Regions from separate parts of the Homo sapiens genome. Here regions 1, 2, 3, 4 and 6 are each linked to region 5. Evidence: promoter capture Hi-C in 16 types of primary human blood cells and fetal thymus (Javierre and others, 2016). All regions are on one chromosome and are shown on one strand. Each heading gives the region's core, a stretch centred on a gene start or on the middle of the fragment in contact. The rest is flanking DNA. Distances are from core to core; before and after follow the strand shown.

Region 1 (5,060 bases), core at 1,752-4,251, 350 kb after region 5:
TGCTGGAGGAGTGAAGAGGTATCTCTGTGGCTCTGCCTTCTGGGTACCCAGCAGTCCCATGGCAATCACACTGTCTAGTCCTTTAAGAGATGTTCACAGATATTCCTGGACACACAGTAATATCTACGTTTACATTTAAGGGTTACATTTGGCCTCTTCCCTTGAATTTTGATGTGGTGATGTGGCTTGCTGTGGCCTCTAATTGAGACCAGAAGTGTCACTTCTGAGCAGACTTCTTTTTTTTTATTTTTTATTTTTTATTTTTTGAGATGGAGTTTCACTCTTGTCGCCCAGGCTGGAGTGCAGTGGCGTGATCTCAGCTCACTGCAACCTCTGCCTCCCAGATTCAAGCAATTCTCCTGGCTCAGCCTCCTGAAGTAGCTGGGATTACAGGTGCCTGCCACTACACCCAGTTAATTTTTTTGTATTTTTAGTTGAGACGGAGTTTCATTATGTTGGCCAGGCTGGTCTTGAACTCCTGACCTCAGGTGATCCACTTGCCTCAGCCTCCCAAAGTGCTGGGATTACAGGCGTGAGCCACCGTGCCTGGCCATCTGAGCAGACTTCTTTAATAGGCACGATGTAAGTTTTCATGTCCCTTTTCCCTGTTGTGGAGAGTGTGGAAGTAGGTGTGATGGAACCTCCAGCAACCTGGATATGTGTATATCTCAAGGAGCAGATATACCTCCCCTGCCAGCTCAAGTAGGACATATGGTATGAGTGGGAAGACCTTTGCTATGTTAAGCTATTGGGTTTGGGAGGAGTTTCTTAGCACAGCATAACCTAGCCCATCCTAACTAGTACACATACCAATATCACCTTAGATAGGCCGAGTCAAGTATGGAGACCATATTTCTACAAAGTCAGGATCGTAGCCTGTCAAAGATCTAATGCTTAACTCTGGGGTCTTCTTCAGTAGGAAGGAATATCTTCTTGCAAAAGTAGGGTGGGATTCCTAAAGATGTGAACTCTTCCTCCCCTTCTTTTGCTAGTCCCTGTTAAGTAGAGAACTCTGATTCACCCATTTGCCATTGTGTCCCTAAAGTCTAGCCCAGGGCCTGAATTAAGAATTAAGAATACTTAATTCTTAATTCACACACAATGGGATTTACTCTGAAGTTCCTTTCTATGAATCTTCCTGTAGATCACATCCAAGAATATGCCATGAGCCTTCCTCCCCTCCCTAAGCCCCTCCACACACCCCTCTGCCTTGAGCAATTTGTTAATTTCTCCTTGACCTAAGCCTCAGGCTGGACAACTCACAGCCTCCTTCTCTGCCTGATCTTGACAATGGCACTGCATAGGAGCTTCCCTGTTATCAAAGTCATACTCACGAATAATAATCTTTATAACTCTCATGATGAAACATTTGAAAATCAGAGGCAAGTGGTAAAAAACTCATCCATGATCTCCTCACCTCGAAGGAACTGCTGTTGACACTGTGACCTTTCCTTTCCTATTTTCCTCTGTGCATTCCCCCTCCCCCCATACTTTTAGGGAGAGCCTATGAATGTCTCCTATTTAGGAGGAGAGGGAAAAGCCACCCACAAATGCAGAAAATGGCACAGCTGGAAGGGGACTTACGAATCCTTCAACCAACTCCCTTACATTACCATTGAGAATGCTGCTTTATACTAGTCTGGGTGCAGATGTGTGAAAAGTAAAAACAAATATCTGGCAAGACCCAAACCAAGCTAAGTGATTGTTGTCTCTGGGGTTGGGGGACTAGAAGGGTGGTGAAAAGATACTGTCATGTTTTGAATCTTTTGCAACAAAAATGTATTCAAGTGTTACTTGCATTTAAAGCACATTATTACTAGAAGAAAAGAGAAAGCAACTTTTATGTCAAGGGTTTCATGGCTATTATTGGCATATTGGTTGAGGCCACTAGTTTCCTGGGTATCAGTCAGTCTCCTCCTAGTGTCATTGCCCCTTGGTCAAGTGTCCTCAAGGAAGAGATTCATTCCAGGGCAGCCCATTTTTTCCTACAACATGGGCACCCAGATGCCAAGATGGCATGGGAAAAAGGAAAATTCTGCAGGCCCCAACCTGAACCATTAGCCCACAAGTCCAATCTCTGTAAGACCCACGCTGGGATCAAATGCCTTCAAGCCCAGACTCAGCCCCATCAGAGGGGGCAGTAGGTGCTCTCAAGACGAAAGGGATTCTTGGTGAATCAGGAAAGTTATTGGGCTGGAAAGTGATTAAAGGGCTGAGCGTGGGAGGGGATTTCCACTGAGAGAGCCAGGCCCAGGAGCAAGCCTGGGCGGGTCGGCTGCAGAGTTGCTGCCCACTTGAAGTCTGTCGCAATGGTGCCCATAAAACCCAAGTCATCAGAGACTTGAAACCTTGGTAGGGTTTTTCCTTCTGTTTCCCTTTAGAAAAACAGAGATCCGAGGAAACCCCAAAGTCCTGGAACAAAGGGCTGTACATCAAAGCGGTGCGAGCAGGTCAGGAGAAGTCTGAGGGAGAGGTCAGCTGGAGTGGGTCTCCCAGCCCCCAGCTCCCAGGGAGAGGAGAGCAGTGAGGGACCTGTGGATTGGAGGGTGGGTGCAGAAGCCTGAAGGGAGAAGCAGGGTGGGGAGGAGCAGGGCTGTGAACAGACCCATTTTCATGCCCCATCTAGGTGAGGAGGCACTACCTGGCCTGAGGAATCCAGGGAACAGGTTGAGGAAGGAGTAGTGATGTTTTCTTTTCTTGCCTATACAGGGGTTACATAGCTCCCATAAACTAGCCAGGCTTTTTTTTTTTTTTCAAATATGCACTGAATCTGCAAGATAGAACTTGACAGCCTTCATTTTACAGATGAGGAAACTGAGGTCAGAGAGAGGAAGTGATTGTGTAAGGTGTCACCAAGCTTAGGCTAGGACATGGGTGTCCTGTCTCCTACCTGAGTGCTCCTTCCCCTACACCAGTGGTTCTCACACGTGGGCGTCAGAATCACCTGGAGGGCTTGTTCAAACACGGATTGCTGGGCTCCAAACCCGGGTCTGGGGTGGAGCCTAGAATTTGTATTTCTAACAAGTTCCCAGCTGATGCTGACTCTGCTGGCCTGAGACTACATTTTGAGAACCGCTGCTCTAGACCCTTGCTATCTAAAGTATGTTCTGTTGACTAGCAGCATCAGTGTTACTTGGAAGCTTCTAGAAGTGCAGAATCTCAGGTCCTACCCTAGACCTATTCCATCAGAATCTGCATTTGCAAGATCCCCAGGTGATCCATTTGCACACTGCAGTCTGAGAAGCGCTGGTCTATGCCACACACCTCTTTCTGGACTGGGGGTCAAATTGAGGCAGCCTAGATGAGCCTTCCAACTCCAGTTGCCAGGGGATAATGGAATAGGTGCCCAGGGTCCTGTGGGGGAACCAGCCCCTTTTTTGTGTTCCCCAAGGTTGGGGAGTTCTCTCCAGAACTACAGAGACAGGAGGGGCTGCATGCTCAGCTCTGGGTTTGCTCGGTTCTAGTGTACACACCCGACATCAGGAGGCTCTATGTGCCCACCTTGGGGAATCCTGGGAATGCCTGGAGGCCAATAACTGCCATTCAAGCCTCTAAATCAACCCCTGCTCTGAAGCCAGCCCTTGCGTTTGAAATTCTATTTCAAGAACTTATGTAATACCTATGTGTTTATTTTATTTTAAAAATATGCCTAATACATGAGTATGACATCCAAACCATATTGAAGCATGCTCATAAAATGACAGGCATTCTCACACTGCCCATCCCCATCCTGGACATTCCATAAGTAACATATCACTGTGAATTGAATCCTGTTAGATATAACCTGTACAACAGAGGTGGACTTTGTTCATTGTGGCCATGCTATATACCTTATTAACTCACTGTACTGTAATGTTTCCCCATGAAACAACGTATTTCAGGCATCTCAACCTACTAAGACCTGTAGATCTGTGTATTTTCAACTGCTGCACCGCATGAACATTTATGTACTGTGCAGTTAACTAGATTTTTAGAGAAGCAATGCATGCACAGGATTTAAAAAAATCAAACAATACAGATTGGTGAACAATGAAAAAATAAGTCTCTATCTTTCTTCTTCATTGTTACCTAGAGAAACTGTTAACAATTTATTTTAAATTTTTATTTACTTTTCTAAACAGGGTCTTGCTCTGTTGCCCAGGCTGGAGTGCACTGGTGTGATCATAGCTCACTGTAGCCTCAAACTCCTGGGCTCAAGCCATCCTCCCACCTCAGACTCCTGAGTAGCTGGGACTACAGGCATGTACCCCACTATGGCTATATTTAAAAAATGATTTTGGAGAAACAAGATCTTACTATGTTGCCTAGGCTGGTCTCAGACTCCTGGGCTCAAGCGATCCTCATGCCTTAGCCTCCTAAGGTGCTGAGATTACAGGCAAACCATTTATTTTTGGTATTTAATTAAAATACTTAATTTTTGTAATAGTTTTGGATGTATAGTAAATTTGAGCAGATAGAACAGAGTTCCTGCATACCTACCCTTCCCCCATAGTTTCTCCTATTATTAACATCTTGCATTAATGTGCTACATTTTTTACAATGAATGAGCCAAGATTCATACATTTACTATTAACTGAAGTTCATGGTTTAAACTCACTCTTGTTGTATGGTTCTGCAGGCTTTGATAGATGCATAACGTCACGTATCCACCATTATAGTATCATACAAAATAGTCTTGCTGCCCTAAAAATCTCCTTTAACCATCTAGTGGTTTCCATTGTTTTAAATAATGCAGTTACATTCTTTTCATTAGTTCATTAACTCTAGATTGCATTGATTGTTTCCCCTCCTCTGCATTATCCTTTTCCACCTCCCAGTTTTTGTCAGGTACATTGTCATTTCATTTTCTCATTCGATAATTATTCATTCAGTTCCTACAGTGTATTAGGCAATGTTCTAGGTGCTGGAGCCACAGGGGTAAAAAAAACAGATAGGCTGGACGCGGTGGCTGACGCCTGTAATCCCAGCACTTTGGGAGGCCGAGGCAGGCGGATCACGAGGTCAGGAGATTGGAACCATCCTGGCTAACACAGTGAAACCCCGTCTGTACTAAAAATACA
Region 2 (4,692 bases), core at 372-2,871, 300 kb after region 5:
GGATTTGAACTGAAGGAGTCTGGCTCCTGAGTCCATGTTTTCAAATACTACATATATGCAGAGGAAAGGAGTCTTGATAGTCTCCATAGCAGTGTGGAGAGCTTGATCATGTACTAGTTCAGCACATTTCTTTATTTCTTTTCAACAGCTTTATTGAGGTACAATTTACATATTATAAAATTCACCCACTCGAAATATACAACTCTAAATCTACAGAGTTCTGCAGCCATGACCAGAACCAAGTTTTAGAACATTTCCACCACCCCAAAAAGCTACCTTGTTCCCCATGCATGTTTTAAACTGAGTCTCAATTTTCTCAACTGTAAAATGGGAATAACAGTGCCTGCCTCATACGGTTGTTATGAGCATTAAATCAACATGTAAATGGCATAAGGTAATGGTCAACAAATGTTATCTATTATTATTACAGTCTCTTAGAGTCACTTAAATACAGACTTTTAGAGCTGGAAGTGGGAATGGTCTTAAAGACAATCTAATCAAACTCTCTCCTTTAACAGATAAAGAGATAACAGTGCCAAGATGTTAAGCAACTTGCCAATTAAGGACACAGTAAATTTAGTGGCAGAGCTGGGAATGAAACCCGGGTTTCTTGGTTGGTACTTCAGTCCTCTCTTATCTCCTGAGAGACTTTCCACTCGAGGCACAGGAATATCATTGTCCAATACCCCCTTCACCCCCCATCTTTGCCATCTTTGTGGGTGCCTCCAGAGCAATGCTGACTGGCAGGCATGGACCCTGGGACTTTGCTTGTGCTGGAATACATAGAGCTCTGGCTTTGGAGCAGGGAATGTGGCTGAGGAATGTTGGGTGCAGAATCAGGGGACCAGATCCAATGTGGAGGCTGAGACAGGAATGTCCATTGTCAGAACACGGAATGCATTAACTAAAAGAATCCAGGACACAGCCAGTCCAACGGTCAGCTAGTCTCTGCAGAGCCAGCTTCATGGGCATATGACCTGTGCAGTCACACGGGGGCTCAAGCTTAGAAAGGCCCCCTGCTTGGTTTAATGCTTTGTTGTTGCCATCTTGAAATTCACAATGATTTTTAACAAGAAATGTCACATTTTTATTTTGCACTGGATCTTGTAAATTATGTAGCTGGTTTTGCCCATGTGATAGCAGAGCTGCAGCCAGACTCTTAAGGCCCTAGCAAGGAATAGTGTCTCTCCACCCAGAACTTACTCACATGTAAACTCTATGTATAATACACAGTCATAGAGTCTTAATACCGAGCATTAGAAGAATCAAAGCCTGGGCAACATATGGAGAACCTGTCTCTACAAAAAATTTTATTAAAATATTAGCCAGACATGGTGGCACATGCCTGTTGTCTCAACTACTCAGGAGGCTGAGATAGGAGGATGGCTTGAGCCTGGGAGGTGGAGGGCGCAGTGAGCCATGATTGTGCCATTGCACTCCAGCCTGGGCAACAAAGTGAGACCCTGTCTGAAAACAAACAGAGAATAAAAGTTGTGAAACAATTTGCACATTATGATCCAATTTATGATGAAAGATGCCCCATTAAAGTATATCTTTCTATATGTACATATGCTTGTATGAAAGTATATTTTTTTAAGGTCTGGAAAAACACTTCAAACTGGCAGTCATCAAGGGAGTCATTAACTTTTTCTGTGTGTTTGAGTTTGTTTTTTACAAGGAGAATCTATTCATGTATTACATACATAATTATTAAAAAAGTGTAAGATACTCCTAATACATTCTGTAAGCATTTTCCTATATCAATAAATAGTCAGTAAATAGTCTTAAAATGCCAAGAAAAGGTGTCTTGAGAGGGGAAAGCAGAAGTAGGTGTCAAGAGGGACCCTGGAGAGTGGTAGACAGGGGCAAAGACTATTTCAGGCCATGACAGGGCCTGAGGGGAACAGGCTTGGATGTGAGGAAGGGAATACCGGGTGGGGGAACCCAGAGGTAGCTGGTGAGAGGGTGGGTGCTAGGTGTCAGCTCCGTTCAGATTTAGAGGCTGCGATGTCCACTTTGGTGAGGGTAGGGGAGGATGATAGGAGCTGGAAAAGGATGAATTGCCAAATACGACTGGAGGTAAAGGCTGTAGAGGTGAATCCAGCTGTGGTGAGAAATGGATGAGGTGGAGGTAGGCAGGTGATTCCCTGCAAGGGAGAAAGAATGGGGCTCAGATGTTGGATTTAACAGAGAATGGGAGATTTGAGGCAGTGTGGCCCAGTGGTCAGAGTGCAAGCTTTGGAGTCAGGACGGCAATCAAATCCCAGATTCACTGCATCCTAACTGTGTAACCTTGAATTCTCCTCTGGGAAACAGAAATGATCTTGATAATAGCTATGCAGTAGGGTTGCTGGGAAGATTTGATAAGATGATGGAGGTAAAGCATTGCATCCAGTGGCTGGCACAGACCCCCAAATCTTCCCCTTTTCTCTTTAATTGATTTTGTGGTTTGAGGCTCTTAAATGGCAAGAAATCATTTGCATGAATAAAGAGCCATTCTTCCAAGCACTTCCCTCCTAGTTTTCTGGGAGAGCCACTGGAAGCCAGGATTCAGAGTTCCATCCTGCAAAAGCTGAGCTGAGCTAGCCAGGAAGGAGGAGGAGCTGACTGTGGCCCAAGGGCTGGGAAGCAAGGCAGAAGGGGAGAATCCAGCCCTAATTCCCACGCTGCTGGTGCCAGTGAGGCTGACTGTGGGAAAACCTTGTCAGGGGTCACACTTTGGGATCTCTAGGAGCAAGGTGCTCTGTGAATGCTTATCTCAGATTCTCTCCACCCCTGGCCCTTTCAGTGCCCCCAGCCCAACTCCGGGGAGAGTATGAGTGACTGACAGGCCCTGCTGCAGCTGCAGCCTCCTCACTGTGGGTACAGATGTGCTCAGCAGCAGCTGTGACACGGAGCCCACACCTGTTCCCTAGATCAGCTGCTGTAACTGTACTCCTGGGAAAGCAGGCCAGGTGCTCAGGCCTTGCCAAAGCCAGGTCAGAAAGCAGGTGGAAAGTCGGGCATCTGCCTGTCATAGCAGCGGTGGAGGCTGCCTGGAAGGTCATGAGGCCCTGGGAGTCTCAGCTACAGACTGGGCTCCTCTTCCAGCCCACGCTTGTCCCCAGCTGTACGCCTCCCACAGGCCCTCTGTGGTTTCCTGACCCCCTCCCTGGGCACCACCACATTGGGGTGGGAGAGACTGAGGAGCTAGGAAGGAGGCGGGGAGTCTTGAATGGGATGCCTCTGGCCATCTGTTATTCTGGGCCTGTAAGCTGTAAAGTCAGGGGACTTGTCCTGGGAGGTGGGGGTGCCCTGGAGCTGAGCAGCAACAAGGACCGGAGGAGTCAAAGAGAACTGAGGCAGGGAGAGGCCAAGGATGAGGGTGCGTCTGGAAATGAGAGCAGGAGAGCCTCTTGCGTGGCTTTGGCTGTGGAGACCTTCGTTCCGGAGACTCTGGGCTGCCACGGGAGAATTCCACTAAGCATGTGTCGGGGGCAGGCCCGGGCAGGCGGCCGTGGGAGCGCTGCACACACTCTGCTCCAGGCCTTGGCCAGCTAAAGTGCCGCTCTGGGAGAGCCTGGATACCGGGTGAATCCAGAAATCCCAGGTCCCTGGGAAAATTTCAACAAGGCAACTCTGACACGCGTCCTCTGACACCCAGACCGACACAATATATTGCTCACGCCAATACACATAAAAACCTCCCGATAGAAAACCAGATGGTGAGTTGGCATTGCTGATGTCTGGATTCTACACCCACACCCCACATAGTGCTTATAAAGAACACACCCTCCACTCATCCAGCCCACCCCACTTTCAGGGAGAGGAATCTTGAGCCTGCGATGCTCATAATGATGCTAACGCCTCAATGGAACGGTGCTCGCCAATTTCCCCAGTATCTCTGACAGTGCCGTGCCAGAAGAAACAGCACATGTGGCAAGCAGCTCCCGGCCAGATGTGGGACACTGCTGACCCCTGCTGGCGCTTTTCTCTCCACGCCAACCAGGGAGAGCCCCAGGGAGAATGCAGTATTGGAAAAACCTTGCAATCTGTCTGGGAGGGGTAGGAAGAAATACCCCAGCTCAGAATCTCCTCATCTGGAGTGCCTTTGACGAGACTAAGATGAAATTACAGTAAACCCAGACTGAGTTTCTGGGAGGAGTGAGACAGACTAATAGTATGTCCCCCTTCAGCCTTTGTGGCCTGGAAAACCCTGCTGCCAATCCCCTTGAAACTAAATTGGGAAACCATTAGCAACACTCCTTTAGCCAAGCTCAACCTTTAGGAGGAAAAAAAAAAGTAAGAAAGAAAGAAAAAGAAAAGAAAAGAAAAGAAAAAAAACACCATCCACAAGTAGCCCAAGATTTTCCAGTTACAATCAACCCCTTCCTTACCCACCCCCTGTCCTGCCCCAACGCCTTGCAGAGTCTTTGTGAAGTTTTAGCTTAATTTATTGTGGGTTTAATATTCCCCTTAGACTAAGATGTAATCATCATGGGTTTAATACTTTTCTTTCCATGAGAGACAGTAGCACTGTGCTCTTTGAAAAATCTTTACTAAGACCAGGTGTGGTGGCTCACGACTGTAATCCCAGCACTTTGGGAGGCCTAGGTGGGTGGATCATCTGAGGTCAGGAGTTCGAGACCAGCCTGGCCAACATGGCGAAATCCCGGCTCTACTAAAAGTACAAAAATTAGTCGGGTGTGGTGG
Region 3 (4,480 bases), core at 450-2,949, 410 kb after region 5:
GTTTGAGACTAGCCTGACCAACATGGTAAAACCCCATCTCTACTAAAAATATAAAAAATAGCCAGGCATGGTGGCGTGCCTGTAGTCCCAGCTACTCAGGAGGCTGAGGCAGGAGAATCACTTGAACCCGGGAGGTGGAGGTTGCAGTGAGCCACTGTACTCCAGCCTGGGTGACAGAGCCCCTGTACTCCAGCCTGGGTGACAGAGTGAGACTCTGTCTCCAAAAGTATATAAATAAATAAATAAATAAATGGAAAGTTATTGTATAAATTATAATAAGCCAAGGCAATAAACTCCAGTAGGCTCATCTGCAAAGCCCCTAAATTCCTTCTCCCCTCTAGCTGCTCCTTTTGGCTGGAGCCTGCCTTCATTATCCATCACAGCCTCTCCACTTGGAATCCTATGTCCCCAACCCCTATGCCTCCCCAGACCCTGTCATTTCTCCCTGGCAGCCGTCTCACATAGAGGCTTCTCAAAGTTGACCCGACCAGAACAGAATTAGAGCAACCTCTATTAGGCAGCAGAATGTCGTTGTAGAGAGGGCAGGGCCTTTACCTCTGTGGGCACTGGGGTGTGTCTCCTTAGGACACCCCTGCCCATTACTCTCTCCTTCTCCAAATGGGGAGCATGGCTGGGGCTCCCTAACCTCCTGCTTGCGAGGCCTCTCTCTGGCCTCTGAGAGGGTCAGTGTCCTGCCCCAACCCATGAGATGACAGACTATAATAGCCACAGGATTAACATAGCAGGCATTGTCTTTCTCTGACTATAGGGTGGGTATTATGTGTTCATCAACCATCCTAAAAATACCCGGTAAACAGGTGCAGCCCCTGTGGCTCCAGTCCCCTGGGATCTGTTGGCTTCTGGCTGGAGATGAAGATTAGGGCAGAGGAGAGGTGAATTAGTCTCACTGAGTTCCAGGCATGAGACTCGGGTGTCCTTTGGAACCTGGGAAATCTAGATTCCAGGAAACCCATCTGGAGGGGGATGCAGAGTGTCTGCAGACCCTCAGACCTCCCTGAGCATAAAGGTGTGCCCTGCTGCCACTGCCATTCTGCTCAGCCCTGGAAACACTCACTGGGGTCAGCCTGCAACACTGCTCACATCACTCCCCACAGCCAGGCACCCTCGTATCCCACGTGCACCAGAGCCACTGAAAAATCCCTGAAAGCTGAGTCTTTAGCCCTCTTGGGCTTTTGGGGCATGGGTTCAGGGGCCTCATTTCCATATTGCCTTATAAGAGATGCAGGGTTAGCCCAATGGTCCTCTTCCCCCAGCTGCTACTTGCCCCTCTGGGCCTTCACTGTGGCCCTTTGCTCTCCCTCATTCCCCCTCCCAGTCCCATCTCTGCTCAGTCCCCACACCTGGTCTGGCTGCTCATTCTTTCCCTTTCTGCAGCTCGAGTCTCCCCAGGTGGGTGCTGGTTTCACTCAGTTGGTGGCACCTATGTGCACAGAATTTGCCTCTGCTCCTGAGCCACAAATTCACATGGCTTTCCGCCTATGTGCCTGTTGTGTGCATTGCAGCACGCATCTGCCCTGTGAGGTGTGTGTGTGTGTGTGTGTGTGTGTGTGTGTGTGTGTGTGTGTGAAGGGTGGGAGGGAGGAGGGGCAGCAGGAGGGGGCAGTGGGTCTGTTCTATTTTTACCAGCCAGTTGCTGCTGGACACAGTTTTCATAGCCTCCCCTCGGCTCTGCCCCTCACAGTCTGCAGTCTACGGCGAGGCACAGGCCAGCCCAGCTCCACGAGGACTGAACAAGGTAAGCGTCTGCAGCCCAGAACTTCAGATGTAGGTTGATCCCAGGCAGAGAACCTGGGGCTTTTGTTTAAGGAGAAAGCGAGGTCTTGGAGCTGGAGAAAACCATTTCTTGCCTGTGCAGTTGGTTTGTTGGTAGAACATTCCTAAAATACTCCCACAGCATTTTGTCCCACAGAATGGCATCTCTCCTGCAAAACTGTTGTGAGAGGTGAAACTTTTTCCTGGCCATTTGGAGGCTGTGAGCAAGGAGCAGAATCTTCCGTGAGGTTCCTTAGGAGCCCCAGGGCAGAGCCTAAGGGATGATGTTTTCACACAGGATGCCCAGCAGAGTGTGGGAGGGAGAGCGCACCCAGGGGAAGGGGTGGCCCTGGGATCAGAGAGCCAGGGTGAGTGCTCAAAGTCAGCAATGCCTGCAGCGGAAGAGAAGGAGGGTGCCTGACGCGCAGGACTCCCAGGGAGCCTAGAAGGCAGGGCCAGAGCTCCCTGCTGGCCAAGGAAACCATCTTGCTTCTGTGTTCTTTGTCTCTGAGCGACGCTGTTAGCTCCCTTTGCCTATCCCTCTGTAGTGTAGCACAAGAGCAGAGGAGGGCAGACCGGCAACCCCTCTTGACTGCTCCTGCTCAGAGCTCCTGGCTCTGAGAAGCAGCAGTAGATACTGGGGGTCCTCTTGGAGGAAGGCAATGGTGGCGGCATTTTGGGTTGGGGCACAGGAGCCAGTGAACACATAAGCCAGGGCAGTATCTACAGGGTAACCCAAGGCTTGGGGCAGGGGGCCGTGTGGCGGTCCCTGACTCAGGTGGGGGCTGAAGGCAGCACCTGCCACCAGGTTTGGGAGTCACAGTCCCACAGCAGCTCTGAGATTAGGCTTTGCTGTTCAGAACTCAAGATGGGGGCAGCCCAGCGCCATGCACTTGGGAGTGTTAACCGTCAGTCAAGGAAGACAGGGATGCCCTTGAATGGGGGTCCAAGGTCAGGGGGCGGGGAGCAGGGGGAAGCACATGAGCCTAACTAGATACTTGTGGACGTGATCATTGGGTGTGCAAAGAGATCAGTTCTTTCCCCTACATATACACGCTCTCTCTCTCACACTCACACTCTCACACACAGTCACTTACACACACTTACACACACAGACTCAATCTCATAGTCTAGCGGATAGTCCCTTCCACGCTGCAAAGCCTCAAGGAAGGGAAAGCCCAGCTCTGAGGCAACCACCAGAGACTCTTTGCTCCCCCCCTCGGGGGGAGGATTTTCTCATTATCTCCTTGCTTGCTACTTGTAGAGGAGATGGAATCCTGGCTCTCCAAGCCTTCCAGTGGCTGCTATCTTCATCCTGACTTATCAGTCCTCGCTTGTCTTCCACAGAGCCTGGCAAGGGCCCCCGTCTGAGGGGTGTCAGAGCACAGGCTGAGGCCTCTTGCCTGACGTGGGACCCCTTGGTCTGGCATTTGTCAGTGAGGCAGGCTGGGGGCAGGCCCCGGAGCTTGGCAGGAGGTGTAAACCGGCCTTGGAAGGTAGGGCCCCACAATGGGGACAGTTGGATCTCTGAGGGAGACAGGGAGGCATGATCACTGCCAAATGCCCACCAAGGACAAGGCACATCCCAGGGAGACAGACGCAGACCTGGTGCCCTCTGGACACTGGCATTCCTGGAGGCTGATGATGGACAGATGGGCCTGGAGGTGGCTCTTCGCCAGCTGGTGTTTCCTTTGGACTTCCTCAGTGTCTTTGGAGAAGCAGAGCCCTAAGAATAAGCAGCTGCCCATAAAATCTAATACCAGCCAAGCATCTCAGGAATTCATGGATTGTCTCCATACCCCTCCCTCTGTGCCCCAGCATGACAGCTGAGACTCTGGGGTCACACTACACCTCCACCTCCTCCACCCCAGCCTTACCCTCCCCTGGTGGCGGAGGCAGAGGTGGAGGGAGGCCCAGAAGGCTTTCTGACCCGTTGGGAGATTCAGGGGAGGTGGCCAAAGCTGTGTTCATTGGGGTTGGGATAGTGCTTCATGGGCACAAAGGGAAAGGAGAGAATTAGGGCAGAGGAAGGGGTGGCTCTGGGATACAATTATTGGCAGGCACTTTACAAGTGTCTTTTAATTCCCCACTTCCCAGACCCCACAACAAGGTTCTTGAACCAAGTCCAAACTCCTGCCCCCGAGCTCCATGCCTGCCCACTCCACACACACTAGGCTCTCCCATCCTTCATTTCACAGCCTGGCTCAGGGCTCCTGTGCGCCCCTGCACACCTGCTCTCCACCTCAGCTGTCCCCTTCCTTTCCCTGAGCTTTTGCACAGTTCCTCCCTTCCCCTGCATTGGAATGCCCTGTGTCCAGGCCCAGGCAAGACGGTGAATTATGTCTGGTTTTGGAACATCTCCCTCTGCAGCCTCACGGACCCCCTCTTTGGCCTGGGCCCCAGGATCACCTGGTCAGGGGGCTTCAAATTGTATTCCACAGCCAAGTGTCCTCACAGAAGACCAGAGGGCTGCTATGGGAGCCCCCTTCAACCAGTGCCATTTGGCTCTTTTTGTTTGTTTGACTTTTTTTTAAGTTCGGGGTACATGTGCAGGATGTGTGGGTTCGTTACACAGGTAAACATGTGTCATGGAGGTTTGTTGTATCAATTATTTCATCACTCAGGTATGAGAGACGTACCCATTAGTTATTTTTCCTGATCCTCTCCCTCCTCCCACCCTCCACCTTCTGATAGGCAAAATGCCATT
Region 4 (4,709 bases), core at 496-2,995, 330 kb after region 5:
TTTTTGTATTTTTAGTAGAGATGGTGTTTCGCCACATTGGCCAGTCTGATCTGGAACTCCGGAACTCCTGACCTCAGGTGGCCTGCCCGCCTCAGCCTCCCAAAGTGCTGGGATTACAGGCGTGAGCCACCATGCCCAGCCCTGCATTTAAAAAACAAAACAAAACAAAAAAAACTTTTTTCTTGTGGTGAGCTATAGCTTATATACAAAAGTGTGCACAAAACCTACATGTACAGTTCAAAGAATAATTATAAAGTGAGCCCCCATATGACAACCACCCTGAGTTAAGAAGGAGAGCATTGCCAGGCAGTGCCTTACCAGCCTCCCTGGTCTCCCAACCCAGTCATGGTCCCTTCCCTCTCTTAGAGGTAACTCTTCTAAGGTAAAAGCTTGTGATCATCATTCCCTTGCTTTTCTGTAGTAACTTTTCCACCTATATGTCCATCCCTTGGCAATATGAGTTTAGCCCATTTGTGAATTTCCTACAAATGGACTTGCATTTTCCCAGCTCTGGTCTGTCTGCTTCTTCCACATTCTCTTTGAGATCCGTCCATGTTGACGTGTGTAGGGGTAGGCAGTCCATTTTTATTGCAGCTGGAGCCTTCTTTATAAAGCCTGCTTCTTCTGCTGATCCACATCCTTTAGAGTGCCTAGCACAGGGCTGAAAATGCAGCAGCTGCTCTGTAAAGACCTGTTGATTAGATTGGGGGGAGGAAATCCCCGAGAACGTGCGAGGCTGCTGTCGAGAGCTAGCAGAAAGTGCTCTGCCAGGCCTGGTGGCCCCCCAGGCATTCTACTTTTGTCTTTCTCTCCTCTGGATCTGGCTGTTGCATTTCTGTCGTGGACAATCTGAGATGTTTCCATCTCCCTGTAAAATTAATTCCCATTTCTGTGTCCCTTTTCAGAATGCCGAACTGGGGAGGAGGCAAGAAATGTGGGGTGTGTCAGAAGACGGTTTACTTTGCCGAAGAGGTTCAGTGCGAAGGCAACAGCTTCCATAAATCCTGCTTCCTGTGCAGTGAGTACGCCCCAGGCCCTATTGCTGTTGCCTTGGACACCCTGGACGGGCCTGCCCCCACAGGCTGGGCCTGTCAACACCCCAGGGAACTGATCCCATGGGATGTAAACAGCTTGACATTTGGCTGAAGCGCAGCTGGGCAGGGAAACACTTCAGGGCCTCTTTGTTCCGTTCAGAAGCTTCTTTCTAAGGGATGAACTGGCCAGAGCGGGTCGGGGTGGCAGGCGTTCAGGGGCTGAAAGCCAAGCTGTAAAGACTTGGTTAAGAAAACTTTCCACTCAGCTCTCTCTTCTCTCTCTCCCTGTCATGATTTCACCATTTCAGAGGAAAACACTTTCAGCCCTTTGCACCCTAATTATCTCTTGTTCAAAGGCAACAGAGGCCACAACCTCATGGTGAAGCTGAATCTGGAGGAAGAGTGGGGCTCCTCCTTCCTCAGCCCCTTGCAGGCTGGCCTGTTCAGTTCTTCACTTCCCATTCCCACTCAGCCTGGGATGAGAGGAAGAGGGAGTACAAAGTTCCCTGATATCTACTCCTAAGAAGCCAGAGCAAGGTTTGCTCCAGTCATAAGCCTAGATGAGTAAGAAATCAGACAAAAGAATACCAAGCAACTGACAGAGGTCAGGTCGACCCAGGGATCCTGACACCGTGATGCTGCACCCACTGGTACCTGGGCCAGGTGATGTTTCCAGGATGTGGCAACTTGGTGAAGCCTCTCCTCAGGTTCCTAAATGAGTTGGTTCATTGTGATCAGAGCAGAAGGTCTGGGTTAGAAGAAGAGGCAACTTCAGCAAGGTGCATTTTCTTTCTTAAGACAGAGTCTCACTCTGTCACCCAGGCTGGAGTGCAGTGTCTCACTGCAGCCTCCACCTCAAATGATCCTCTCACCTCAGCCTCCTGAGTAGCTAGGACTACACATGCATGCCACCATGCTCTGCCAATTTTTAAAAAAAATTTTTAGAGAGACAGGGTCTCCCTATATTACCCAGGGTGGCGTTGAGCTCCTGGGTTTAAGCAGTCTGCCCACCTCAGCCTCCCAAAGTGTTGGGATTACAGGTGTGAGCCACTGTGCCCGCCAAGGTACATTCCCCATGATGGTAGGCAGAATGGATGGTAGAAGAATGTCTTAGTTAAAAAAGATTCGGTGTTTATTATCTGTGTGATGATGGACAAGTTACTCAGTTTCTCTCTGGTTGAGTTTTCTCATTATTACGGAGGAGGTAATAATAGTTACCTCATGGGATTGTTGTGAGAATTAAAATGAAAGAAGCTTGTAAGACAAAGCACTTAAAATGATTATGAGTGTTGAAGAAATGATATGCACACACACATGCGCACACACGTGCACACGCACACACACACACGCACACTGCTGAGGGATCTGTAGCAAGATGGTGTGATACAAAGAAGCCCTCACCAGGGTCTGAGGCCCCTGAAGATGGGGAGATCCAAGAATGGGGTCCTGTCTGTTCTGCATTACACGAAGCAAAGTTTCATGATTTGTGCTCCAGAGTAGGATACAGATGGGCCAAGAGCCACCTGTTCAATGGACGTTTGCATCTCTGCCTGTCGCTAGGTAGACCCACCTGAGGCCACCCCGCACAGGGCAGCAGGGGCCCCACATCCTGCTCAGCCGGGCCTGGAGTGACAGCTCCAGGGCTGCGTCTGATGAATGGGGAGTAAACAAGGTTTAGTGGAGCTTTGTTGGCTTCCAGCCTGCAAAGGAGGCCAGAAACAGCAGCGTCTTGTTATCAGCAGTTCACTACTCTTAGGAATTTCCAAGCCGTTTATCTTTCCAGAGGGAATAAGAGAGAGCTTGGTGCTGGCTGGGAAGGGGGTCTAGGCTGCTGGGGTCCTAAGGGCCCCTCTCTTTGCTCTCAGATGTTGCTTAATCACTGACCATAAGGGGTCAGCTGTGGGCGGGGGTGCCTGCCTGCAGACCTGTTTACGGAGGAGTAGTCGGTCAGAGGGTTGAGGGAAGTCAGGAATTCAGGGGGTGGCATAGGAAGGAAGGAACAGGGCCTGGGGCAGGGTGTGAGGGGCGCTGCGGATGAGAAACAGTTGTAGAAAGTCAGGCTGGGGAGCAGGGCTCTTGGCGGGGTGCGGGGGTGTTATGCAATGAGCAGCCGCAGGAAGCAGTCTCAGGTCACGCTAGGGTCTCAGGGCCAGTGCAGCTATTGGATATCAGAGCACCAAGTGGACCCCCTAGCACTGCACATGTCCCAGCAGGCTGAGCCATCTCCACAACTTGCTCATTCATCATGCCTAACACAGCACCTGGCACAAAGTGGGTTCCTGACAAAGATTTGTTTATGAATGGAAGGCACATCATTTCTCTTTTCCAGTGAAGTGGGTGATAAGTGTTCACCCCATTCAGGGTGCCCACTGAATCAAAGGACTTTCCCTCCCGAGGAAGGGAGAGGCTAGCCAGGTCTGGGCCAAGGGCAGTAAGGGCCATCTCCCTCATTGGCCAGGCCTGGTTGGGTCCCCAAAAGCAGTTGTGACCATGTGGGTTCTTGGCTCCAGATTCTACTCAGCTTGCCCACCTACATGCCTGTATTAGTCTACTCTCATGCTGCTAATAAAGACATACCTGAGACTGGGTAATTTATAAAGGAAAGAGGTTTAATGGACTCACAGTTCCACATGGCTGGGGAGGCCTCACAATCATGGCAGAAGGCAAAGGAGAAGCAAAGGCATGTCTTACATGGCAGCAGGCAAGAGAGCTTGTATGGGGGAACTCCCATTTATATAACCATCAGATCTTGTAAGACTTTTTCACTATCACAAGAACAGTATGGCGGAAGCTGCCCCCATGATTCAATTATCTCCATTTGGCCCAAGGAGAGATTTGGGTGGGAACACAGCCAAACCATATCAGTGCCCTTTCCTGAGTGTCTGAATGGGCGGGAGGAAGACATGATGATGTCATAGGCAAAGGTGGGGAGAATGACCTCCACCCTGGGCTTGGCCTGGGACCAGGGACTGAGAGGGCCTACAGTATACTCCCATGGTCTTGAAAGGGGCTGCCAGATCCTATGAGCAGGTGGTGGTTCAGAGGCTGGTGGGAAAGCTCAGCTCCGTGGCTGGGAACCTGCCCTGAGGTTATGTGCCCATCTCTGAGCTGTACCCAGCTCCCTGCTGGGGAAGGTGGGTTAAGCAGCCAGCCCTGAGGAAAGAAGAACTCTGTGATGGTGGCCGATGGAACAGGGCCCCACAGGTTGGCCCTGGGCTGTTCCCTAGAATCCAAGAGCACAGGGGAAGCTCACGGAAGCCTTGCACACTTTCTGACACCAGCGTCTCCTCACCTGCAGGCTGAGACTTACTGACACTTTTCACCCTCTTGGCCCCACATGTGTGGCCCACTGGAGGGGAGCAATGGCTGGCAGAAAACCACCAGGTCTGGAGGTCAGGGGCTGGGTTCTGGCCTGGCCCTGCATCTGGCCAACACGTGATCTGGAACTGTTTTGTGGGCCTCGGTTTTCCTTCCAGAAGCAGAGAATCATTCTCTATTTCTGAGTGGGGCAAGGGGGCTCTGACCTCTCCCCTGGGGCTGCCTTTTCCCTTTATTTCCAAGCAGTATCACAAGGGCCCACCAAAGTGGCATCTGGAAGTATGTGTTTCCAACAAATCCAGTCTTTTTTTTTTCTTTTCCCCTTATTGGCTTACCATGATATGGTAGAAATTTATT
Region 5 (5,016 bases), core at 842-3,341:
TCGATCTATTTCTCATCAGTGACTTAGATCAAAATTCTGTACTTCTGAAATTTAATTTTTCACTTAAAGGCTCAAAAAGATGCCAGGTGTGGTGGCTGAGGCCTGTAATCCCAGCACTTTGGGAGGCCTAGGTGGGAGGATCGCTTGAGTCCAAAAGTTTGAGGCTGCAGTGAGCCATGATGGCATCACTGCTCCAAAGTCTACACGATAGAGCGAGACCCAGTCTCAAGAAAAAAAAGATGAATAAAGTGAGGAATCAGAGTTTCAAAAAAGACCTCGAGAACTTTATAATTGACTTTGCCCAGATGAGACCATGGCATTTGGCTAAAGTTGAAAAGATCAGAGCAAAAGTGGAGTTGTTGTAAGACAGTTTAAATACAAGTCAAGGTCCACCTTTCATACAAAGGTGCCAGACATGCATTTGGAGCACCAGGAGCACTGGGTACCACTCAGGGAAGGTTTAGTTAAGATGAATTTGCACCAGACTCTCAAGTTTTATTCAGGTGACAACTTGAATGTGATGAGGTTCCTTTGCTTTGTCACTCTTCCTTCCTCATACTCAAGGGGGACAGACATTAATGTGCATAAACGAATTTTATTTAGAAGCCGCTAAAAATTCCTTTAGATTAGTTTATACATGGTTCTCAAACAGCTTTCTCCTAACCAGTGGTTTCTCCTGTATAGATCTGATATTTTATAAAACAATGACAATTACAAGTGGGCCTTCAAAATGGTCCTTAGCCTGTTAGATCCCAAATCTTAACATATTTCCAACAGAAGAAAATTTGTTTTCAACAGCTCTTTCATACTGTGAAAGAATGTAAACTAAATTTAAGAGAGATTTGTTCTAAATTCTTTTCAATAGAAATACGTCCAGTAGGAGAGCTAACTGAAGGTTTTGAATATGATGGGTGTGTGATGGGACAATTTCCCATATCTCTGATGAAGTATTTAAGTGGTGGTGGAAATATTCCTGAGTTGGGAGATTCTGAGGATTTGGAGTTCCAGTGAAGCTCTGACCAGATATATTTCTTACACAAAGACCAAGAAGATTTCTCCTCCTGTTTCTGGATTAAATTGTTCTTTGTGGTAGCTACACTGGACCCGGTGAAAGGCTCACGCGGCAGGAAATTGATAGAAAATCTCGAACCAATGGTTTATTTTCTTCTCCATCACTTTAAAGCACACAATAGAGGACGGAGACAAAGAATCAAAAACAAAGGATGATCAGTTCCTCCAAACAGAAATGCACAAAGGTATTTAATAAGGGCAAATTATTTTTAAAATAAACGTTAAGTATGGTCAGGACAGTGAAGCAATCGCATATGCATTTAATTTCTGGGAAAACACGAAGAGTACAAACAACTAGCTAGGTTTATAACTCAGAGGCAGAAACTTGTTTGATGACATCTATTAAGCTTTGATAGCCGCCTTTTCGAGGCCCTACCCTTCACCACTCCTACTAATAGCTCCCCCTACTCTTATCCCAGTACAATCCAGCTGGTGAAGAGAACAGCGAAAGACTTTGGTCCTGGACTCAAAAAATATTTCCCCGACCGCGCTACTTCCTCCAACAGCACCAAGTCTAGCTCCATCTCCGTCCCCTGCAGATTCTAGGCTCCATCTATCTTTTCAAGTCTCCACCCTCCCTCCCCCACTCCCAGGCTCCACCTCCCCCGACCCTATCCTTCAGGCGCGCCTCTCCTCTCTCGGACTTTCACAACCACCAGCGACATCAATCTCTCGCTTCCTGCTCCACTTCTCGGCGCCCACATCTCCAACTGGCTCAGGCTCCCCATGTCCCCAGCCGGTACGGAGCTGCGGTCAGCGGATTGTGCGGCTGAGCCATCCTCGTGACGGTCCCGCCTCACTCACCCTCCGTCACCTCCAGCACCTTAATCTGTTCTTCAGCAGCCGCCCGCACCTCCTGTACTGGGGATAGGATCCCGGTGAGCGTATCCACTAACGCTTCCTTTAATCCTTGTGCCACTGGACCCGGCAGCCCGGAGGCCGCACCAGCTGCCGCCGCCGCCGCCATCTTTTCTCCCCTCAGCCCGCCAGCCCCGCGGCCGGGACCCGCCACCGAATGACGGCCCCCGCGCGCGGCCAATCCGCGAAGCCGCGCCTGCGCACCAGAGGCGGGCGGGAGCGGGCGGAGGGCGGGGAATGAATCTAAGCCTCCAGAGACAGCGCCTCCTGCTGCCTGAACGAGAACTGCACCTTTCTCTGCAAGGATCTCTGGATTTGTGTGAAAACTGAGCCCCAGACAGGTTAAGGGGCTTTCCTAAAGTTGCACAGTAAGTTAGCAATCTCATTTGGAATAAAGTTCATGATATATGACTTTATATTCATGCATCTTTCAGGTGTTAGGAGAGAGGAGGCGGGATGGGAATAGATGTAGAGGGCTTTAAGGAGAGAGGTCTGGGTCACAAATAGCCCCTATTTTAAACCACATTCTTTTCCCCCCAAACACTGAAAAAAAGTTGGCTCAAGTGACTCTCTTCATCTTAGCCTCAGGAATCCAAAGAGGGGGGAAAATAAACTAAAGCAAACTGGGAAGTGGAAGTGGGAAAACCACGGCCCAGTCCCTTGGTTTTCCAGCCTAGATGAGCCCAACCTCAAAGCTGGGAAGTGGCTGGGCAGGGGAGACACCGGCATGTGAAAGGGAGTTTCTTCCAGAGTGAGTGTTGTATGTGACTATTTGAGAATGAATCCTATTTGTTGAAAATGTATAAATTTTTTTCCCTGAGAAATTATGGCTGGACATTTAAGGGGTGCGAGAACAAGAGCAGTTTGATGATATGGTTGTCAGCAGCTGGTCGTGGGAAATGGCCTACGGTGCAGAGCCGCTCCTGAATAGCGGAGCAGGTGGAGAGGATGAGCGCTCCAGTGAGGTGTTAAAAATGCAGGGTGTGGCGAGGCGCAGTGGCTCACGCCTCTAATCCTAGCACTTTGGGAGGCCGAGGCAGGAGGATCGCTTGAGCCCAGGATTTCGAGAACAGCCTGGGCAACATAGCGAGACTTCGTCTCTACAAAAAAATACAAAAATTGCCCAGGCGTGGTGGCGTACGCCCTGTAGTCCCGGCTGTTCGGGAGGTGGAGGTGGGAAGATCACTTGAGCCCAGGAGGAGGAGGCTGCAGTGAGCAGTGATTGCGCCATTGCACTCCAGCCTGGGCGACAGAGTGACATCTTGTCTCAGAAAAAGAAGAAAAAGCAAGATGTAAGCCAAGGCAGGAGGATCACTTGAGCCCAGGAGTTCCAGGCTGTAGTGTGCTGTCATCACACCTATGAATAGCTACTGCATTCCAGTCTGGGCAAGATATACAGACTCTGTCTATAAAAAAAAATAAAAATTAAAAAAAATGCAGGGCAGAGTGGCAAGCATGTAGTGGCAGAAAGGATAGAATGTTGTTGGAATGGGAGGTTCTAGAGCAAACAGAAACAGGTATTTTTTAGTGAGCTGTTCAGGTTATGTGCCTTCAAAATGGTTCCCAGGAACCCTTATCAAGTGAGTTCATTCTCACATGGCAAAGGAAACGAGTTACCAAATCCTAGGTCACTTCCAAGACTGTGGATGCTGGACTGGTAACAATCAGGGATTAAGTCATCTCATCAGAAGATTACTTCAAAAGAAAGCTTTCTCAATTATTTATTTTTGAGTTGGGGGGGTCTTGCTATGTTGCCCAGGCTGGACAGGTGATCCTCCCACCTCAGCATCCAGAGTAGCTAGAACTACAGGTACACCCACTGCAACTGGCTTGAAGAGAGTTCTCAACACACTTGTCACCTCCCATGTTAAGAGGGCAGAGATGAGTTATGTTACTACAATTTCATAGGGAAAAGATTGCTTCTTGGACCCTTCAATTTTGCAATGGGGAATAGTAAGCCTATTTACTTTCTTGAAGTGGCCAAAAGAAGTTGAACTTGATTACAACAGCTTCTAATAGGTCAGTTCACTTTTACCCCAAGAAGAAAATTTAGCAAAGTCAAGAGGGTGGTATGTTTTCAAACACTGCAGCAACCCAGATGGAGGACTCCGGAGCCTTGATGTTTGGGCTGGATGTTTTGAGATCCGGTGAAGGATTCTATGTCCATAATGTGCGAGCAGGGGTTCCTCCCACCCCCAACCATGGGAGTCAGGAGACTCTAGCTTAGGGTTTCAGGTTACTTCTGGGTTAGGCAAATGACCACAAGCAGTCTGGCCTTGCCAATCAAGGAATGGGCCACAAGATAAATGGAGACAGAAACCAGGCAGAGAGGGAGCTAGAGAACCAGTGGACAGTACAGGAGATAACTTTATTGAAACGCAAATGGCATTGAACAGATGAATCTTGCTGGGAGGAGACATGCCAGATGGACAGAGGGCCCAGATTGGGGGTGGCCTCAGTGGTGATGAAGGAAGGCCTCTTCAGCTGGCTCTGGCATGAATTTTATTTTTAAATAATTTGTTATTTAAAATGAATTACTGAGGGGACAGCCCGGCTCTCTCTTCATGATTGTTACCGCAACTATATACAACAGTTTGCTTTCCAGATTCAATTTCGCTTTTTCTACATTAGATATAAAAGGGGGTAGGTTGAAAGAGGGGAGGGTCAAATAAAAAACATAAACACACAGACATACACATATCCTGGTTTGGGATTTTGCACCCAATAACTTAAAAAAAAAGTGTTGCAAAAACTTCTGCCCACTCTCCACCTGAGGAACACCATGCATTTGAGAAACACGGACTCTGTCACATAAACGGTGCTGCCTAAAACAGTATGGAGGCGGGGAAGGAAGCTAGCAGGGGTTGGAATTCATTTTGAAAAAAGATTGTTTTGTTAGAAAAAGCAAAAACAAAAAAGCATTAGAAAGTGGGAGCCACTGCACAGCAGTAGCCTAGAGACTGGCTGCGATATGGTAGCTCTGCCTTGATATCATCTTCGTGTCTTCAGGCATAGAGAAATGGCAGAGGAGCAGTAAGACCCCACAGGAGATGGCCAGAGGATCCACCATCAGCCTTCTGGGGACTG
Region 6 (4,779 bases), core at 171-2,670, 270 kb after region 5:
GACCTCACTGGGTTATGGAGTGACCATTCTCCTGTGATTCCCATGAGCTTATGCACGTTAAATAAGTTTATCTGCCTTTTATCTACATATCGTCAGTTTATTTTCAGTGAAGTTTCAGAGGGTGGTGGGAAAGCTTTCCCTTGGCTCCTACAAAGCACGAAAACATTGAGGGGATAAATAATATGCACGAAGTCGCACAGCTAGGAAGAGGCAGCAGGATAGAAACCCAGTTCTGTTTCACCCTTATTCTTATCCCTGGTTTCTGTTTTTGTTTTTTGGAGTCCAGGCCTCCTCCTTTCTGCCCCTCCAAGCCCCTTGCGCAGGGTTCCATGCACAGCTCAGTCACCGCCCAGCACATAGATGGCTTCCTTTCCGCAGCCCCTGAGGAGTCCTTTCGTCCTTCTACAGCCAACTCCAGAAACTACATAGAGTGCTTTCTTCCTGTCTCTCTTCATCCCTTCCACTCCTATTGGAACAAAACCACGTTTGACATTTCTCAGCATTATTACATTAAACAGGCTGGATCTCAGCCAGCTATTTCTGGGCTTTAATTACTTGTTCTATCTAGCCTAAGTGGTGTGGGCAAGCCGGTCCTCAGTTAACCCACCTGAAAACTGGGAAGATCAGGAACTATCTCCTAGAATTTGATTACCAGCCAAGGACGGTGCTAATTTGGAGGTGGTAGTTAAGTGTTTTGGGGAGGCTGGGTGGTTTCTGACTTTAATTCTCTCTAAGACTAGCCCAGGGGAACCTCTGGGGCCACAGTGCAGCTTTGTAAGTGATCTCCCCATGGGGAGTAAATGTCCTGGAATCAAGCCCTAAGGCAGGCCCCTAATTCCTTGCATGTGTGATTGGGCACACAAGCCTCAGGACACGTCTGAAGGCTGTCCTGTGGGCTGTGCTGAAGGACATTGGACAAGCACATCCCCCAACCCTTTGTCTTTCTTCCAGAATCTCTTGCATTGTTTCACAAAAGGAGCAGCACAGAAGTTGAAATTCACCCAGGCACCTCAGAGGGCATTGGGCTCCTGCCTCAGGTACTAATTGCAATCCAATCTGGCTGAATGATTGGGGCTGAAATGTGGCATTTCACCATCACAGTTGGTGCCGTGGGAATGCATAGAAATCTTCAACTTGACACCAAACTGGACTTCCCTAGGGCTTCCTAAGAGAAACAGTAGATCATTTTCATCTCAGCCCCCTCCAAGCCTTAAGTGGGGGCCCTGTGGTCTGGCAGGATCATGGAGTCAGGGTTCCCGGGACCCTGGCTGACTCATCTTCCTCCTTTGCACCAGAGACGAGTCTACTGGTCTGAGCTTTTGCCTGAGATATTTGCCCGTAGAATTAAGCCCCTGTTTTTACAGGGGGAACACTAATGATTTTCTAGGGCTCTCCATTGAGAGGTCACTTGAGACCCGTTTTCCACACAGGCATTTGGAGGATGGTGCTCTTTGCTGGTGAGGAGAGGGGCATTTCTCCAGAGAGGGCCCCAAGGACTGGTGGCAAGCCTCTATGGAGGGGGCAGGGCTGGTCCTTAGACCTCTGCTGCTGGCCCAGGTTGGACTAAGGTTGGGGCTAGGACAGCAGAGGGGAAGAGTCCAAGTATTTTTCTCCCCTTGCCTGGAAGGCCCCCCAGTTCCCTCCCCTCCAACCCAGTCTTTGCCTGACTTAATTCCTGCAAGCCCAGGAGGAGGAATTCACCTCCCAAGAGGCCCTTCCTGCCCCTCCAGGGGTTACAGTCCCTCCACTGTCCCCCCACTGTCCTGAGCTATTACAACTGGGGTGTAATCACTGGTTTGCTTACCAGACCTTTTTTTTTTTTTCTTTTTTGAGACAGGGTCTTCCTCTGTCCCCCAGGCTGGAGTGCAGTGGTGCGATCTCAGCTCATTGCAACCTCTGCCTCCCAGGTTCAAGAAAGTCTCCTGCCTCAGCCTCCCGAGTAGCTGGGACTACAGACACCCACCACCATGCCCGACTAATTTTTTTATTTTTATTTTTTGTAGAGATGGGGACTCTGTATGTTGTCCAGGGTGGTCTCAAACTCCTGGGCTCAAACAATCTACCCACCTTGGCCTTCTAAAGTGACAGGCATGAGCCACTGCTCCAGGTCTCAGACTATTTTTTATAAAAGAGCGTTATACTGTTTGTCCTTAGCACCTAGGACAGTCCTAAGCTGTGGCTAATATCTAGTGAATGAATGAATGGATCAGTGAATTAATGAATGTGGCATTTTCAATCCCCACTTTCGGACCTGAAATCCTAAGTCTCCCAACTCAAATACCTCTTGGGCCTTTTCCACAGACTGTTCTCTTGGGGTTCCAGATAGGCCGACCTCAAGTAGTACCCCAGAAGCTGTTATTAAATCTGCCCCGCCCCCCGCCCCCCATCTCCCTTCACAGCACCTTTGCTCCAGCACCCGGGAACCCATCTGGCTCCCGAATCCCCACTGCCCCTCCCTTTTCTGGCCTCTCTTTCGGAAACACCTTTTTCCTGCCTCCATTAGGCCGCTGTGTTTCCTGCACAGGAAGAGGGCCTTTTGATTCCAGGGTGCTATTTATAGCAGCCCTCCCTCCTTCTGAGCCTCACTAAGGTAGGGGTGATGGCGCAGGGGATGGGGATAGAAGATGCTTGGGACTTTCCAGGGTCCCGGCCACCAGGAGAAGAGGGCTGAGTTCCCAAATGAGGGATGGAACCTAGAGGAAGCTTCTGATCCCCAGACTGGCTTACCCTCCTGACTTCCCCATATCTGTTAGTAGCTCCACAGCTCTCCCAGGCCCCCAGACTCAAAACCTCAGAGCTTCAGAGTCAAGGAGTTGTGGGATTTACATCTAGGGAAGACATTACAGATCATTTTGTAGATGAGGAAACTGAGATCCAGAGAGGAGAAGAGATTTGAACGAGGTCACATAGAATGTTAAAAGTAGGTCTCTGGCCAAAATCTCCCCTGATTCTTGCCTTACCTGCAACAATGACAAAGGATTGCCTCATTCAATCTTGTGGCAGGTGGCATGTTATGGGTTGAATTGTGTCACCAAAAAAGATAATTGAAGTACTAATTCCCAGTGTCTCCGAATGTGACCTTATTTGGAAATAGGGTCATTGAAGAAGTAATTAGTGAAGATGAGGTCATACTGGAGTAGAGTGAGCTCCTAATCTGGTATGACTGCTGTATTTATAAGGAGAGGGAAATTTGGACATAGACATACACAGAGGGAAGAGGATGTGAAGGCCACAGGGAGGAGATGGCCATGCAGCGGTGAAGGCAGAAATCGGAGTGATGTGTCTCTACACCAAGGGATGACAAGGATTGTCGGAAAGCACCGGACACTAGAAGAGGCAAGGAAAAATTCTCCACTAATTTCAGAGGGAGTATGACCCTGCCAACACCTCGATTTCAGACTTCTACCCTCCAGAACTGACACTATAGATTTCTGTTTCATTAAGCCACCCACTTAGTGGTACTTTGTTATGGCAGCCCTAGCAAACTGATCATTTGATGGATAAGGACTCTAAGACTGAGACAGGTTAAATGAGTTACCCAGGTTATATGCCAAAAGGTGCAGGAGGGACTCAACTTTCAGTCCAGTGCTCTTCCAAAAAGACTGCACGACTTTTGGATTCTGCTCTCTGTTGTGTCCCTCCCATGTTCCACAGTCATCCAGTCCTGTTCGGTTTTCCTTTGTAAAAAGTCTCTCCCACGGCTCTTCCTTTCCTTCCCCAGCAGGGCCGCCCTAGCCCAGACTTTGCATGTCAGGAACGTGACAGTACATCTGCTGGCCCAACTCTCCCTCTTCCAAGCCATTAGTTGGTCCCACACCTCTTTATGGAATGCCCACTGCTTGCTAGGTTCTGTGCTATGTGCTGGCTTCCCATCGGTGAACAGAACAGACGTGGTCCCTGCCATTAGGGCCGTCCTGCTGGTAAAACAGCTTCATCATGTCACTTCTTGGCTCCGGGTCACCAGTGTCTCCCCACCACAGGCTCCAGTCTTGCACGTGGACCTGTGTTTCCCACATGCAGGGCCAGACACCCCTGTCTGTCAACACGTGTCAGCTCAATTCAGATTAAAGAATAACATTCTGTCTTATGGGGAAACCAGGGGCCCCTCTACAAATGATCTGAACTTCCCAGCTCCAGGAGATAAAGGCAGCTCCAGTCCATGGAGGGAAGAAAAGGCATTATGGTCTTTTACAGCAAGACACAGAAATGGGGAAGTTGTCTGGGAACAAAGAAGGTGACACTGAACACTTTAAACATCCACTAAGGACCGACCAGCTTAACTCTCAAAACCCTGGCAGATACTCTATTGATGCTGGATAGATGTGAATCCTACCGCAATGAAAGGAATCTCAAGTTTCCTCCCATAAACAAACTGTGGCACATTCATACGTCAGAAATTAAAAGAAGCAAAATACATCATTCAACATGGATGAATCTCAAAAACATTATGCTGAGCTAAGAAGCCAGACACAAAATAGAACCTACCACATGATTCCATTTATATGAAGTTCAAGAGCAGGCAAAACTAATCTATGATGATACGAATCAGAACACGGAGACAGTGGGTGGGAGCACATTGACAAAAGGGACAGGAGGGAAATTCTGTGGGTTGATGGAAATGTTCCATATCTGGATCCGGTGTGGGTCACATGGGCGTATTCATTTGTCAAAAACACATCGATCTGTGTGTTTCACTGTTTGTAAATTATACCTCAATTAAAATAGAAGACAATAGAATAAAAGAAGAGAAAAGGATTCCCTCCTTCTCGGTTGGAACAC

The links. Contacts are between HindIII fragments. The CHiCAGO score rates a contact against its expected background, and 5 or more counts as called.
Region 1: a fragment that was not itself captured here is called in contact with the fragment with the promoter of IPO9 in region 5 in 1 of 17 cell types (monocytes); the score reaches 5.7 in monocytes.
Region 2: a contact is called between a fragment that was not itself captured here and the fragment with the promoter of IPO9 in region 5, in 7 of 17 cell types (endothelial precursors, monocytes, M1 macrophages and 4 more). The highest score is 10.8, in endothelial precursors.
Region 3: the fragment with the promoter of TNNI1 here is called in contact with the fragment with the promoter of IPO9 in region 5 in 7 of 17 cell types (M0 macrophages, M1 macrophages, erythroblasts and 4 more); the score reaches 15.4 in M0 macrophages.
Region 4: a fragment that was not itself captured here is called in contact with the fragment with the promoter of IPO9 in region 5 in 4 of 17 cell types (M1 macrophages, endothelial precursors, erythroblasts and 1 more); the score reaches 7.4 in M1 macrophages.
Region 6: a contact is called between a fragment that was not itself captured here and the fragment with the promoter of IPO9 in region 5, in 7 of 17 cell types (endothelial precursors, monocytes, M2 macrophages and 4 more). The highest score is 13.2, in endothelial precursors.

Annotation. Positions count from the first base shown.
Region 1 is chr1:201,473,970-201,479,029 of GRCh38, reverse strand. No RefSeq gene overlaps it. Among named protein-coding and RNA genes, the nearest start is that of PHLDA3, 7.3 kb to the right of the region's middle. The HindIII fragment of the contact is 283 bases long and covers 2,860-3,142 here.
Region 2 is chr1:201,530,199-201,534,890 of GRCh38, reverse strand. It overlaps CSRP1-AS1 (CSRP1 antisense RNA 1), which reads right to left. Exons shown (of 2, transcript NR_160747.1): 2 at 107-1,467. The region is part of intron 1 of LOC124904484 (a long non-coding RNA gene); the gene reads left to right. Among named protein-coding and RNA genes, the nearest start is that of NAV1, 6.6 kb to the left of the region's middle. The HindIII fragment of the contact is 1,234 bases long and covers 1,005-2,238 here.
Region 3 is chr1:201,418,949-201,423,428 of GRCh38, reverse strand. It overlaps TNNI1 (troponin I1, slow skeletal type), which reads left to right and starts at 1,699. Exons shown (of 9, transcript NM_003281.4): 1 at 1,699-1,756. The HindIII fragment of the contact is 15,457 bases long and covers 1-4,480 here.
Region 4 is chr1:201,492,501-201,497,209 of GRCh38, reverse strand. It overlaps CSRP1 (cysteine and glycine rich protein 1), which reads left to right. Exons shown (of 6, transcript NM_004078.3): 2 at 906-1,018. The coding sequence starts at 907. Among named protein-coding and RNA genes, the nearest start is that of CSRP1, 12 kb to the left of the region's middle. The HindIII fragment of the contact is 1,091 bases long and covers 1,200-2,290 here.
Region 5 is chr1:201,826,232-201,831,247 of GRCh38, reverse strand. IPO9 (importin 9) reads right to left here and starts at 2,091. Exons shown (of 24, transcript NM_018085.5): 1 at 1,876-2,091. The coding sequence starts at 2,038. IPO9-AS1 (IPO9 antisense RNA 1) reads left to right here and starts at 1,689. Exons shown (of 3, transcript NR_046696.1): 1 at 1,689-2,297. It overlaps NAV1 (neuron navigator 1), which reads right to left. Exons shown (of 34, transcript NM_001389617.1): 34 at 4,279-5,016. RefSeq lists enhancers at 1,792-2,001, 2,013-2,307, 2,464-2,977, 2,978-3,492 and a silencer at 2,052-2,291. The HindIII fragment of the contact is 2,219 bases long and covers 1,421-3,639 here.
Region 6 is chr1:201,553,469-201,558,247 of GRCh38, reverse strand. The region is part of intron 1 of NAV1 (neuron navigator 1); the gene reads right to left. Among named protein-coding and RNA genes, the nearest start is that of NAV1, 17 kb to the right of the region's middle. The HindIII fragment of the contact is 2,570 bases long and covers 136-2,705 here.